Regions from separate parts of the Homo sapiens genome. Here region 1 is linked to region 2. The links are contacts of gene promoters, found by promoter capture Hi-C in blood cells and fetal thymus (Javierre and others, 2016). All regions are on one chromosome and are shown on one strand. The core of a region is centred on a gene start or on the middle of the fragment in contact, and the rest is flanking DNA. Distances in the headings are between cores, read along the strand shown. Region 1 overlaps ELOA (elongin A). Region 2 holds the start of FUCA1 (alpha-L-fucosidase 1).

What was found. Contacts are between HindIII fragments. The CHiCAGO score rates a contact against its expected background, and 5 or more counts as called.
Region 1: a fragment that was not itself captured here is called in contact with the fragment with the promoter of FUCA1 in region 2 in 1 of 17 cell types (neutrophils); the score reaches 5.4 in neutrophils.

Annotation. Positions count from the first base shown.
Region 1 is chr1:23,757,102-23,764,675 of GRCh38, forward strand. It overlaps ELOA (elongin A), which reads left to right. Exons shown (of 11, transcript NM_003198.3): 10 at 1-24; 11 at 2,411-4,958. The coding sequence ends at 2,472. ELOA-AS1 (ELOA antisense RNA 1) reads right to left here. Exons shown (of 4, transcript NR_038280.1): 4 at 3,281-4,050. Among named protein-coding and RNA genes, the nearest start is that of ELOA-AS1, 17 kb to the right of the region's middle. The HindIII fragment of the contact is 6,411 bases long and covers 2,442-7,574 here.
Region 2 is chr1:23,864,372-23,871,026 of GRCh38, forward strand. It overlaps FUCA1 (alpha-L-fucosidase 1), which reads right to left and starts at 3,919. Exons shown (of 8, transcript NM_000147.5): 1 at 3,527-3,919; 2 at 1,120-1,254. The coding sequence starts at 3,915. CNR2 (cannabinoid receptor 2) reads right to left here. Exons shown (of 2, transcript NM_001841.3): 2 at 6,144-6,655. RefSeq lists an enhancer at 881-2,080 and a silencer at 3,331-3,550. The HindIII fragment of the contact is 15,238 bases long and covers 82-6,655 here.

The sequences.
Region 1 (7,574 bases), core at 4,397-6,896, 110 kb before region 2:
ATCCTAGGAAACCCACTGTGAAGAGTAAGTAACTTGGAGTTCCTGCTCAAATATTATTTCAGCACTAGTTTTTAACTCTCAATGTCATTATTCACTGTATTACATTTTGTGGACTGCATGTTGCATGTACATGATGCCTTGCACATAGCTGGTCTGAATGTCAGTCCCTCCTTCCCCCTGCTTTGTCCATAGTGCATTATATCTCTTAAATAGTTATAGTGAGTCTGGGTGCAGTGGCTCATGCCTGTAATCCCAGCACTTTGGCAGGCTGAGGCAGGAGGATCCCTTGAATCCAGGAGTTCAAGACCAGCCTGGACAACATAATGAGACCCTCTACAAAAAATTAAAAAATAGGGCATAGTGGTACACACCTGTAGTCCCACCTACTCAGGAGACTGAGGTGGGAGGATTTTTTGAGATGGAGTCTCGCTCTGTCACCCAGGCTGGAGTGCAGTGGCACAATCTCAGCTCACTGCAAGCTCTGCCTTCCAGGTTCATGCCATTCTCCTGCCTCAGCCTCCCAAGTAGCTAGAACTACAGGTGCCCACCACCATGCCCACCTAATTTTTTCTATTTTTTAGTAGAGACGGGGTTTCACCATGTTAGCCAGGATGGTCTCGATCTCCTGACCTCGCGATCTGCCCGCCTTGGCCTCCCAAGTGCTGGGATTACAGGCGTGAGCCACTGTGCCCGGCCGACCCTGTCTCTGGAAAAAAAAAAAAAAAAAAAGTGAAAGTAGAAAATAGTATCTGGCCAGGCATGGTCCCTGTCTCTATTAAAAATAGAAAAATTAGCCCACCATGGTGGCATGTGCCTATAATCTCAGGTACTCGGGTGGCTGAGACAGGAGAATTGCTTGAACCTGGCAGGCAGAGGTTGCAGTGAGCTGGGATTGTGCCACTGCCCTCCAGCCTGGATGACAGAGTGAGACACTGTCTCTAAATAAATAAATAAATATCATTGTGAATGACCATTTTGGCACTCTTCTTTTTTCACCTAAATATAAACTGACTTCTCTAGGCAATACCACAGTGTTCATAATTACTAATATTAACAGCTAAATGACAGGCCCTCTTACTGTTTTTTTATAGTCTTATAACTCTAGCTTCCAAATATTTATTCTTTATATCTAATTGGGTCTTCCAATTTATTTATTTATTTTTTTTTTTTTTTTTTTTTTTTTTTTTTTGGAGACAGAGTCTCACTCTGTCGCCTGGGCTGGAGTACAGTGGCGTGATCTCGGCTCACTGCAACCTCCACCTCCCAGGTTCAAGCGATTCTCCTGCCTCAGCCTCCCAAGTAGCTGGGATTACAGGTGCCCGCCACTAAGCCCAGCTAATTTTTTGTATTTTTAGTAGACACGGGGTTTCACCATGTTGGCCAGGCTGGTCTCGAACCCCTGACCTTGTGATTCGCCCGCCTCAGCCTCCCAAAGTCCTGGGATTACCAGCGTGAACCACCATGCCTGGCCGGGTCTTCCAAATATTTATTCTTTATATCTAGTTGCGTCTATTTTGTATTTTGTTAACTTTATTACCATAGACTATCCCCAGTATCCTAAGGGGATGTCCTAACTTAAGTCTTATTCTGTATTAATTGCAGGGCCCATGGGAGGGTGGGAGTCCTGGCTTGAGCTACAGCTATGCTCAGATGAACCATTCAGGAGGCAGGCTGGCCTTCCTTAGGCAGTACTTGCATAGCCACCTTAGACCTGTTTCTACACTGGACAGATTGGGGGTAGACGTGCTGTTTACTGGTTTGGCTATTTGTGAGGCAAAGTTAAGTTATGACTGAGTATGGCCTTTAGAGTCTGGCAAGGGCCGGGGCACAGTGGTTCACACACACCTGTAATCCCAGCACTTTGGGAGGCTGGGGTAGGAGGGTGCTTGAGCCCAGGAGATCGAGACCAGCCTGAGCAACATAGTGAGACCCTGACTCTACAGAAAATAAAAAAAAATTAGCCAGGCATGGTGGCACACTCCTGTAGTCTCAGCTACTCTGGAGTCTAGGAGGTAGAGGCTACAGTGTGCTGTGATTGTGCCAATGCACCCTAGCCAGGGTGACAGAGTGAGACTCTTTCCTTACAAAAATAAAAACAAGAAAGTCTGACAGAGATTGAATTGTAATTCTGTACCTTACTGTACAACCATGGGCAAGTTGGCCAGGCTCTCTGAGCCTTGGTGCAGGTGGTTAGAGAGAGTGGTGGTCATGCCCCTGGCAGGTCCTCCGAAAGTGTCTGCTCTGTGCTGTTGCTTTTATTGCATTGTGAACAGAGGAGATAGTTACTACTTGTATCTCTGCCTGGTGGTGCACAGCCAAGAATAGCAGAGCTGGCTTTGACTGTAAACTACTGGGGGTGTGTCTAAGCCGCCACAGATCTGAGACAGCTGCCTTGTTTCTCTTTTCACAGAAATTGCCCCAATGATGGCCAAGACAATTAAAGCTTTCAAGAACAGATTCTCCCGACGATAAACTGAGGACTTGCCTTGGAAATGGAATCTGGGGAGGCAGGAATACAAGGACAGTGGGGGTTGGGGAATGGAATTCTACAGGAGACTGGAGTCTTGCTTTGTGGATCCTTTTGGTCTCCGAGTCCTGCAGTCTGCAGGTGCTGCCCCTGGGAACCTGCGTGCCACAGCCCCGCCTCCCTGCCTGGAGCACACTTTAGAATTCTGAAGATGTGAAGCCTCTGTCTCACTGAGGATTTTAAAGGTCAATTATACTTTTGTTGTTCATTAGCATCTTTGTAAACTATAAGACGTAGTTTTAATTAATAAATATTGCCCCCAGATTGTATTTATATTATCCCCCAGGTTTGTTTTTGTTTTTTGTCCTCTACCACACATTTAGCCTTTTATCTTCCAGGTCCTTATTAAAATCAGATGAAAGCCTAGTGAAAGCCAGTCTCCTGCCCCAGCTCAGCTCTGTGTGGACTCTGGTCCAGACAGAGGACTGGGCATCTCCAGAGCCTGCACAGTACCTGCTGCACGTAGGGCAAGGAATGAGCACTAGACCGCCTGTCCCCAAGGGAGCCTCAGTGGGGCGACAGGGTGCTCGGCGGACTCCACCTCAGGCCCTCCCCACTGTTGCTGTGCATTCCTGTGCAGGTGCATCTCTTTCTTACTAACTGGTATTTATTAAGGGAGGTGCTCTGTAGGTCTGGAGCCTTTCCCTCATCCTTTTTGCGAGTCCCCACCTTTTTGTTTTTTTTTTTTTCTTTGAGGCTCACTAGAGGACGCAGAACCTTGGGAGATTGATTTGCACAGAACTCCCCACCTCCCACTTTTACAATTTCCAGTTTCTGATTGAAAATTTTAGGGTTTCTCCCCACTGCCCTTCCCTATCTTTCCTTCCCCTCAACACCATGAAGGAAAAACACACACGGCAGGGCTTTTTGTAGCCCTGAAGGCAACTTTAGACATTTAAAATCCAGCACTTTAATCTCTTGTTCTCTGTGAATCACTATGAGAAGTGAATGGTTTTAAAGGCTGTAATGCTATGTTGGAAATTGGTTTGTTTTGCCTTTTATTGAAAAGGTAAGATCATGTGATTGGAAGAACACAACTGTTGGCTTGGGAAGAGGACTTTGCTGCTGAAGTGTTTTCTACCTTCTGAGTGTGTTTAAGGCAGGATTTGGAGGGAAGGACCAGCTTAGGGAGAGTGTCTGAGCCACAGCGTCAGGATGGGGGAAACCACATGGGATCCATCAAGTTCCAGTTGAACAGGAGCAAGATCAGAACTTAGGAGGGCAGTGTCAGCTCCCTTGTTGGCTGTCAAGGAACACCGATCTAGTAGAAACCCACTTGGTTGTGACCCAGGTAGAGGTAGATGCCATACATTTGAGATATGCGTCCTTAAGGAACCTGACAAGCAGACTGAAGGGATGGTAAGTGTGACAGCCTGATAAGTTTTCTCAAAGCCCAGGATACAGAGCCAGTGTTTTCTGTAACTGGAGACCTCAGTTAGGCCAACTTCGAATTCCAGAGCAACGTAGGAAGTCTATTCAGCAGAAACTCGACATTGTTCAGTGTGTATTGCTGTGCAGGGTGCCTATTGTGACAGGACACAAATGTTACTATGTTTTAATTTGCTATATTTTTGAATGGGTAAAGCATTACTTTACTTCTCTTGGTTACTTGTACCACCATTCCACCCCTATCCCTAGCCTGCCCCACAAATCTAATATTAGGAAGCCTCTTAACTGAAACCAAATGAACATTTGGGTCAGGTGCCAGATGTCTGCTGCCTAGAATAGCTTTTTCTAGGTGTCTACCACCTTGAATTTATCTCTTAACTGTGTGTTCAAGTCTTTGTCATTGAAACTAGTTTTTCATATCTTAGATTCAGTTGTGTATGATTTAATGTCCCTTATTAGGAGTCTTTAGGCAGGGAGGGAAGAAAAAACAGATTTGTTCATAGCAATGTCAGTATCCATTTTGGCACATAAAGATTTTTGATGAGCCCTGTTTGCATAGAGCCAGATGTTTTCCCCTCCCCCAAGAGTATCTACATCAGGGATGTGACTTGGTGCGAAGAGTCAGGGGAAAGAGGAAAAACCCAATTTCTAAATGACCTCCTTGCCCAGCTTACTAAAATGGCTGCAGAGCAGACACAGGATGAATTTGAACCTGACACAGGATGAATTTGAACCTTTGGTCTCATTTATGGAAAAACTTGTGCAATTTTTTTTCTGTGCTACACTACATACAAATCACCAAATTACAAATTACCCTTTTGTGATCCTTGGTGTACTGAGCAGTTTCTTTGGGGCTTTTTCTTTCTGGGAAGCGGGAGGGAAAGGAGCAAGGTGTCATCCTGCTCTTCATTTGTATTTTGGTCCCAAAATGTAAATACAATTTTCTATGTTACTTTTTTGTGGTAACTACCGAGATGAATATTTTAATTAGATAAGTTATATGAAAAGGAAAATTCCATGTCTAAATAAAAAACAAACTCCATATACTGTGTCTTCCTTACTTATAGCATCAGTGGAAAGAAGTTAGAAAATGCCTGATTCTTGGACTGTTTAAGGCAGAGTTTTTTTTTTTGTTTTTTTTTTTGAGATGGAGGAGGCAATCTCAGCTCACCGCACCCTCCTAAGGCAGAGATCTTAATCAGCATCCTTGGGCTGGGCCTTAAACGATGCCGAATTTAGTAGTAAGAGGAATTTCAGACGGAAAGAATTCTGTGAGCAAAGGGCGGGAACTCAGCATTTGTGGGGAACAGGCACTGTCCCTTATTATACTTGGAACCCTGGTAACCCCATCTTAAAATTAGAAACTGGTTCAAAGGGGTGAAATGGGGCCGGGCATGGTGGTTCATATCTGTAATCCCAACACTGAAGGGCGGAGGCAGGATTGCTTGAGCCCAAGAGTTCAAGACCAGCCTGAGCAACATATTGAGACCCTGTCTCTAGAAAAAGATTAAAAATTAGCCAGGTGTGATGGTGCACCTATAGTCCCAGCTATGTGAAAGGCTGAGGTGGGAGGATCACTTGAGCTTGGGAGGTCGAGGCTACAGTGAGCTGTGATTATGCTACTGCACTCCAGTCTAGGTGACAGAGCAAGACCAGCCTGGGCAACATGGCAAAACCCCATCTCTTTTTTTGTCTCAAAAAAAAAACAGGGGTAGGGGGTTAGGAGGGACTGTGGCTCATGCCTGTAATCCCAACACTTTGGGAGGCCAAGGAGGGTGGATTGCTGGAGTTCAAGAGTTTGAGACCAGCCTTGGCAACATGGCAAAACTCTATCTCTACAAAAGATACAAAACTAGCTGGGTGTGGTGGCACACACCTTTGGTCCCAGCCACTCGGGAGGTAGAGGTGGGAGGATGGCTTGAGCCCAGGAGGTTGAGGCTGCAATAAGCCATGATTGCCACTGCAGTCCAGCATGGGCGACAGAGCAAGACCCTGTCTCCAAAAAAATAAAAAACAAACGGGGAGGGGGGGGAAAGGAGTGAAATTAACATGGCCAAGTTGCGTAGCTAATAAAGTGGCAAAAGGAAGGATTTGACACCGTGATTCTCTAACTGCAAGGTTTGTGCCACTCTGCCTTTCAGTTTCCACGGGCTGTGAGGGACCAGTAGGTCTCAGCTTACACGGGCGTTCTAATGAGTACAGAAGGAACATGAATGCAGGAAAGTCGTGCCAGCAAAGACTTAATGAGAACCTGCTGTGGTGGCTCTGGCTGACCTGCAGGAGCTTTAGCACTTGCTAATGGAGCCATGGATTTGGCTTCAACCCTGCATACAGCAAGTGGATTGGACCTTCCATCAAACATACAAATCTGTCCTTTATCGATTAATTAAACATTTGCTGAGCCAGGACCTGTATTAGACCTTAGGATATGGAGTAATAGACTCTGACACTTAACAGTTAGGGAGGAGTAACTGACTTTATTGATTATGCACCTACTAGGTGCCACCATTCCTTCTTCTGTACACTGCCTCTGTTATCACAATGATCCTGTGAGGTAAACAGTCATGGCCCCATTTTAAAAATGACAACTTAATCCTGGTAAATCCAGGGGATTAAAAAATAAAAATGAGAACTTAAGTCACCATAGTGTCTGTAGAAATAAATTTTAAAAAATTGTTTTAATGAAAATGAGAAAAACCGAAGCACAGAGAGATGAAGAACTTGCCTAAGTTCACAGAATCAGTGAGCAGTGGTGCTATGTATTGGCCTGACTCCAAAACACATGCTCTCAGTCACATTTACCATCTCATACACTGACATGCATACCCAATTTGGCCTCTGAAGCAAAGCTGACCTCCAAAACAAAAGATGCCTGAGCCAAGGCCAGAGTCGTTTCTGTTTTTTTTTTTTAAATTCTTTTTTTGTGATGGAGTCTCGCTCTGTTGCCCAGGCTGGTGTGCAGTTGCACGATCTCGGCTCACTGCAGCCTCAGCCTCGCGAGTAGCTGGGATTACAGACATGTGCCACCACGCCCAGCTAATTTTTATATTTTTAGTAGAGACAGGGTTTCACCACGTTGGCCAGGCTGGTCTGCAACTCCCAACCTCAAGCCATCTGCCCGCTTTGGCCTCCCAAAGTGCTGGGATTACAGGTGTGAGCCACCGTGCCCAGCCTAAAAATTCTTTATCCTCAAGTTCAACAGTCATTTCTAAGAATGATATCTTTTGTCTGCTTCATGTAACTGATGCCCAGCAGAATCCTACCTGGCTTATCAACTTGACAGATGCCCCCATCACAGGGTTTCTCATCCACTTTCATCTCTTCCTGGTTATTTGCTAAATGGTGAAACAGTTTGTCTTCAGAGGCCCCTGAACTTCTTTCTCTCACTCTTTTTGAGACAGTCTCACTCTGTCACCCAGGCTGGAGTGCAGCGGTGGGATCTTGGCTCACTGCAGCGTCAACCTCCCAGGCTCAAGTATTCCTCCCACCTCAGCCTCCCAAGTAGCTGTGACTACAGATGTGCACCACCACTCCCAGATAATTTTTTGGTATTTTTTTGGGAGATGGAGTTTTGCCGTGTTGCCCAGGCTGGTCTTGAACTCTTGAGCTTAATCACTCTACCTTGGCCTCCAAAGTGCAGGGATTACAGGCATGAGGC
Region 2 (6,655 bases), core at 2,669-5,168:
GTCACCACGCCTGGCCAAACTAATAGTTCTTAACGTACACAAAATGAAATGTGGTTGATGACCTATTTTCATATTTAATAAAGCTTGCTTTGGGTTAAGAATGGTGAGTGTTACAAAAACCTTATAATGCAAGAAGCAATTACACAGATAAAAAACAACTGAAGTATTTCATCATATGACCCAGGGACTAAATAAAGATGGTAAAAATCATGACTCCTGAAGTCCATATCTAATCAATATCTCAGAGTTTTACAGCAGGACTTTAAGCAAAGCACAGTGCTGAGAAACAAACTGAGCAGGTGACAGGAGTCAGCAAACTCTTTTTGTCTTTTTTCTTTTTTTTTTTTTTTTGAGACGGAGTCTCGCTCTGCCACCCACGCTGGAGTGCAGTGGTGCGATCTTGGCTCACTGCAACCTCCGCCTCCTGGGTTCAAGTGATTCTCCTACCTCAGCCTCCCGAGTTGCTGGGACTACAGGCAAACGCCACCACGCCCGGCTAATTTTGGTATTTTTAGTAGAGACAGGGTTTCACCATATTGGTCAGGTTGGTCTTGAACTCCTGACCTCATGATCTGCTTGCCTCTGCCTCCCAAAGTCCTGGGATTACAAGTGTGAGTCAACGCACCCGACCAGTGAACTCTTAAAGATCCAGACAGTGTTTTAGGTTTTGCAGGCCATTTGGTCTCTATCTCAGCTCTCAAATTGTAGCTTGAAAGCAGTCACAGACAGTGCATAAATGAATAGGCATGGCTGTGTTCCAATCAAACTTTATGATTTATACAGACACTCAGCCTACTCCTCAAACAGGACATCAAGTAGCATCGTAGTCTATGTTGGGTATCCTTCATCTAACCAGACATGGCCATGAACTTCTGTAACGGTGTCCCCTTTGGTCACGTGAAAACTGTGAAGCATCAAACACTGCCAATTCAAAGGCCAGAAGCCCTTCCGGCTACTTGCTATATGCAAACCTAGAAAACACACAGGAGTAGAAGGCCAAAAGCCCTTCAGGCTACTTGCTATATGCAAACCTAGAAAACACACGCAAGTAGAGGAGGTACAGAACTCTTGACAGCCAGATCCAAAGAGATAACAGAGTAACCATCCCTGGACACTCACCTCTTCCGGAGAGCTGTTCCCAATTCACCAACCAAATCCCGATGAGGCCCCACGTCTTTGGAGTTCCAGTTCCAAGACACAGGACTCGGCCAGTTTGTGAAGCCTTCGTGATGCTTTGTCGTCAAAACTACATACCTGTGGACAGCAAAACCACATGAGCAAAGGAAGTGGGCAGTGAACTTGCATGAACTTGCCCAGCATGCCTGAGGCTTTTTAAATAGCTGAAAGAACTTGACCACAACAAATGTACTTGTACCAGTGACTATATTAGTGATATCCAGGAAGCTGCTGCAGTCACAATTCCCCTTGGGCATTGCTCCAAGAATGGAAGCAGATTTGAGGAAGTCCCAACCCTCAGTCCCCAGCAAAGGAGGAGGCCCAGAGGGAAGGAAGGAGTGGGTAAGGGAAAAGAAGTGCACCTTAGCTCTCTGATTCTTCAACACTTCTGGTAGGAACGATTAACTTTCTTTCATTCTTTGCCCTGAAGGAGAAAGAGCTCTACTGGAAATGGCAGATAATAGAAAACTAAGCCATTTGCTGGCCAGGCATGGTGGCTCACACCTGTAATCCCAGCACTTTGGGAGGCCAAGGTGGGCGGATTACCTGAGGTCAGGGGTTCAAGACCAACCTGGCCAATGAGGCGAAAACCCATCTCAACTAAAAATACAAAAATTAGCCGGGCATGGTGGTGTGTGCCTGTAGTCCCAGGTATTTGAGAGGCTGGGGCATAAGAATCACTTGAGCCTGGGAGACAGAGGTTGCAGTGAGCCGAGATCATGCAACTGTACTCCAGCCTGGGCTACAGAGCAAAACTGTTTCAAAACAACAATAACAACAAAATAGAAAACTTTCTAGAAAACTAAGCTGTTTGGTTTACCAAGCCTACATAAATTGCCTCTCATTTATTATAGAGGTGACAAAAGACCCAATAACTGGGAGAAAAGGCAAGTGTTGAAATAACAACCAAATCACTCAATATTTAATTTGCTTTTATGGCACAAAAATAGGTAATGCACTTTATGGTTCAATCATTGGCCAGAGTAGGGAACTCCAGGATTTGAAGGGCCAGATAGTATTTTAGGCTCTGTGGGAGCACATTCCTCTCTGTAGTGTATTCTTCTTTAAAACATTTTACAACCCTTTAAAAATGTAAAAACCATTCTCACCTCATGGGCCTTAAAAAACTGGCAGAGGACCAATCCCTCTGGCCAGTTTGCAGACCCTGGTGCAGTGGAAACAACCTTGACGTCATGAGACCTGGAGTCTAGGACATTATATTCCTTCCTCTCTTTGGGCCAGTCATCTCATCCATGAAATAAAAGGCATGGAAAGAGGTTATCTCCCAGATTTTAATTTTTCTCACTTGTAAGTTATGGATCCCTAAGGCCCCTAGGAGACAAACACTTCCTCTGCTTAATCAAGTCTTATACTCCCATACATTTAATGGCAAACACTAAATGCCAGTTGTAACTTCTCTTTAGTACAAGTGAATTCAAAGTTCAAGAGAAACGAAAACCCGGAAGATGGCTGAGGAACCAAGGTAAGGATGGAAGACTGCTCTAAGCCAGGGGCTGGGGAAACCTCCCCGCCTCCATTTTTACTCTTCTCCAACCCACTTCTCTCCCAGCAGCCGAATGAATCTTTCTAGAAGCTGATAGTAACCACTCCCTGACTTAACATCTGTCAATACAGGGCTCTCAAGGCTCACTCCTTCAGGACAAGCCCCTGCCTTGACAACTTCATGGGTCGTGGTCTCCCCTTATCCCCACCCCAGCGCTCTCTACTCTGTTCTCTGAACCAGCCACCCCCAAGTTCCAACAGTTCTCAGAGAGAGTCAGACCCTTCCTGGACACTTCCTACGTAAAAGGGATTGAGAGGAGCAAACGAATGACTATCTGTACTGTTGCCCAAATACACTGCACACCAGAACTCCCCTCTCTTTCCCTCTTAGAGACATTAGGGCTCAAAGGGTTGTATCCTTATATAACCCCTTTCTACAACCATAGAAGAGGCTGCAGGGAGGCTGAAGTGACATGTCCAGGTTCACAGTTGAATTAGAACCAGGCTCCACACCACTGATTTGAAACCCTGGAGTCCTGATAGTGCTGTCAATCTGAAAGGGACATCAGGTATGGCCTAACTCAGCCCTCTCGGTGCACAGGTGCAGATACCCAGGGCTTCCCAGCCTGCCATCTCCCTGAACCTTCATTTATCAGTCCCCAGTCAAACGCACCTCCTCCTCCTCATCAGGTGTGCCAGGCTCACTCCTGTGGCCGCAGGAGGCCACACGCGGGCCCCGGGGTCATGGGGGCGACCGGCAGCTGCGCGCCCCAGCTGGCCGCCCAGCCCCACCTCCTGTTTGCCGCCCGAGCCGGGAAGGGGCGCCGCTCCCCGGGACCACACTCACTTGGCGCCCGCGGCCTGGAAGAGGTCGGCCCACTCCTCCGGGTGGAAGAAGCGCGCAGTGAACTGCGGTCCGAAGTCGGCGTAGCTGAAGCCGGGCGGGTAGTTGTCGCGCATGAAGCGCTGGTACTGCGGCCGCCCCTCGCCCTGCCAGTGCCACCAGAACCACTCGCTGCCCCAGGCGGGCACCGAGAACACGCCCCAGTGGATGAACACCCCGAACTTGGCTTCGTCGAACCAGGCCGGCAGCGGCCGAGAATCCAGGCTCGGCCAGTCTGGGGTGTAGCGGCGCGGAGGCTGGGCCCGACGCACCGACTCGGCCGCTCCGAGGAAGAGCAGCAGCAGCAACAGCGCGGGACCCGCCGGCCGCGACCTCATCCCCGGAGCCCGCATCGCTACCCCTCAGCGACGCGGCCCACTCTTAACGCGCAGGTGCCCGCGGGCGGCTCCGCCCACTCTGACTAACGATTGGCCCGGAAGGAAAAAGGGGTGGGACAACCTGGACAGGTTGGCCCGAGTCGCTTCCTCCTCGGGTCGGAGGAGCGCCCTCTGGTGCTCAAGAAGGGAAAGACGCAGGGAGGCGTTGACAGCGCTTCGCTGAAGGACGAATAAAAACCTTGAAAAGGGACTTAACTGCGAGGTTAAATCGTGGAGGTGAGCAAGGCCCAGTGTGTGCGGAGAACTCACATTTAAGAAGGAGTCCATTGAGCCGGACGCAGTGGCTCACGCCTGTAATCCTAACACTTTCGGAAGTCGAGGCGGGAGGATCGCTCTGAGCCCACAAGTTGGAGACTAGCCTGTCTCTATAAAAAATAAACAAAATGAGCCTGGCGTAGTGGTGCACGTCTGGAGTCCCAGCTACTCGAGAGGCTGAGGTGGGAGGTTCGGGATCGCTTGAGCCCGGGAAGTCTGGGCTGCAGTGAACCGAACCGTGATCACGCCTCTGGGAGTAGTCCATTTTGCCGCAGCAATCCTGCAGGGGTAGGCTGAAGTGAGATCACGAGTTTTATTTAGTGATCACTTGGGAGCCATAGGGGGCTTTTGAGTTGTCCTGTAGCACAAGGCTGGAGGAGGAGATAACAGACCGGAAGGGTATCTAACAGCCCTGACAGAAATAAGGAGGTAGAGGGATGATGGGAAGAAACGTTATGAAAGGAGAGGAAAGAGAAAACTGGGTACTGAAAGAGGGAGAGCGGGCAGGACCGTTTCATCTGTCTGGTATTTACTGAGCTTTCTTTGGGAATTCCGAGGCATTTCAAATAGCTTAGTTTGTACCGAGATACCGCCACTGCACTCCAGCCCCTGGGCGACAGAGCCAGACCAAGGAAGAAAGAAAGGAAGGAAGGAAGGAAGGAAGGAGGAAGGAAGGAAGGAAGGAGGAAGTGGAGAGCCAAGAGGACCCAGGATTGCCTGGCAGGGAAGTTCCCCAGTTCCTCTGCAATTTGCACATGCTGCACATACTCAAACGGGAGGTGAGGCCATTAGCGAGGGAAATACGGAAGTCAGAAGTCTCTGAACAGACAAGGTGGCTCACGCCTGTAATCCCAGCACTTTGGGAGGCCGAGGTGGGCAGATCACCTGAGGTCGGGAGTTTGAGACCAGCCTGGCCAACATGGTGAAACCCCATCTCTACTAAAAATACAAAAATTAGCCGGGCATGGGGTGCGCCTGTAATCCCAGCTACTCAGGAGGCTGAGGCAGGAGAATTGCTTGAACTCGGGAGGTGGAGGTTACAGTGAGCCGAGATCGCACCACTGCACTCCAGCCTGGGCGACAGAGTGAGACTCGGTCTCAAAAAAAAAAAAAAAAAAAAAGAAAAAGAAAAGGAAGAAGAAGTCTCATGACTCCACGTAGCACACTCAGTTCCCACATGCCAGTGAGAGAATGGCAGCACATCAGAGTTGGGACTTTGAAGATCCTAGGCACCATCCTCTTCCCTACCCTTCCCATTGTACCGAGGAGGGAACTGAAGCCCAGAGAGGGCTGGGGGGCTGCCCAAGATCATGCAGCTAGTTTGAGTCAGAGGTGGGACTAGAATACGTGTCTCCAGGTGCAAAATCTATGCCTTTGTTCATGCTGCTTCTTTCTTGCACCTCATGAGAAGTCAGAGCCTATGTTGACAGAACCCAGCACTTCCTCACTCTGGCAGTGACAAGGAGAGAAAATGACTATTGCTGAATCACAGCTGTTTTCTTTTCTTTTCTTTTCTTTTTTCTTTTCTTTTCTTTTGAGATGCAGTCTTGCTCTGTCGCCCAGGCTGGAATGCAGTGCTGCAATCTCAGCTCACTGCAACCTCCACCTCCTGGGTTCAAGCCATTCTCCTGCCTCAGCCTCCCGAGTAGCTGGGTTTACAGGTACGCCACCACGCCTGGCTAATTTTTGTATTTTTAATACAGATGGGGTTTCGCCGTGTTGGCCAGGCTGGTCTCGAACTCCTGACCTCAAGTGATCCGCCAGCCTCAGCCTTCCAAAGTGCTGGGATTACAGGCATGAGCCACTGCACCCGGCCTACAGCTATTTTCTTTATCTTCTGTTTCTTTTTCTGCCAGATTATGTTGAAATATTGCCCAAAACAGTAAGCATGAACACCTTAGGAAAAAAACCGAACCCATCCACACACATTTTCTAGTAATCGGTTTGCATAGTGGTCTTTAATGTTACAGAGCTTGTCTTGGGGAAGATAAAATGGGACATTGTGATCTTCAATTTATTTCTCCTTATCCACATAACCAAAATGTGAACCTGCAGGGACAGGTGAGAGGCACTGATGTAGAGTGGACAGAACTGGAAGTTAGGAAACCTAGGTTTGTTGCACTGGACACCATCTCGTTTGTCTCCCTGAGCAAGTCTTGTCCACTGTCTGGGCCCATTTCCTCAACCAAACAACAAGGGCAGTTCTCAGTGATATCTAGGTCCCTTTTGCACCCTTGTTCTCCTCCCTCATAAGCTCTGCTTCTCCACTTAAAGCAGACATAGGGGCTGGGAGTGGTGGCTCACACCTGTAATCCTAGCACTTTGGGAGGCTAAGGTGGGTGGATCACTTGAAGTCAGGAGTTCAAGACCAGCCTGGCCAATATGGTGAAATTCCATCTCTACTAACAATACAAAAATTAGCTGGGCATGGTGGCGGGTA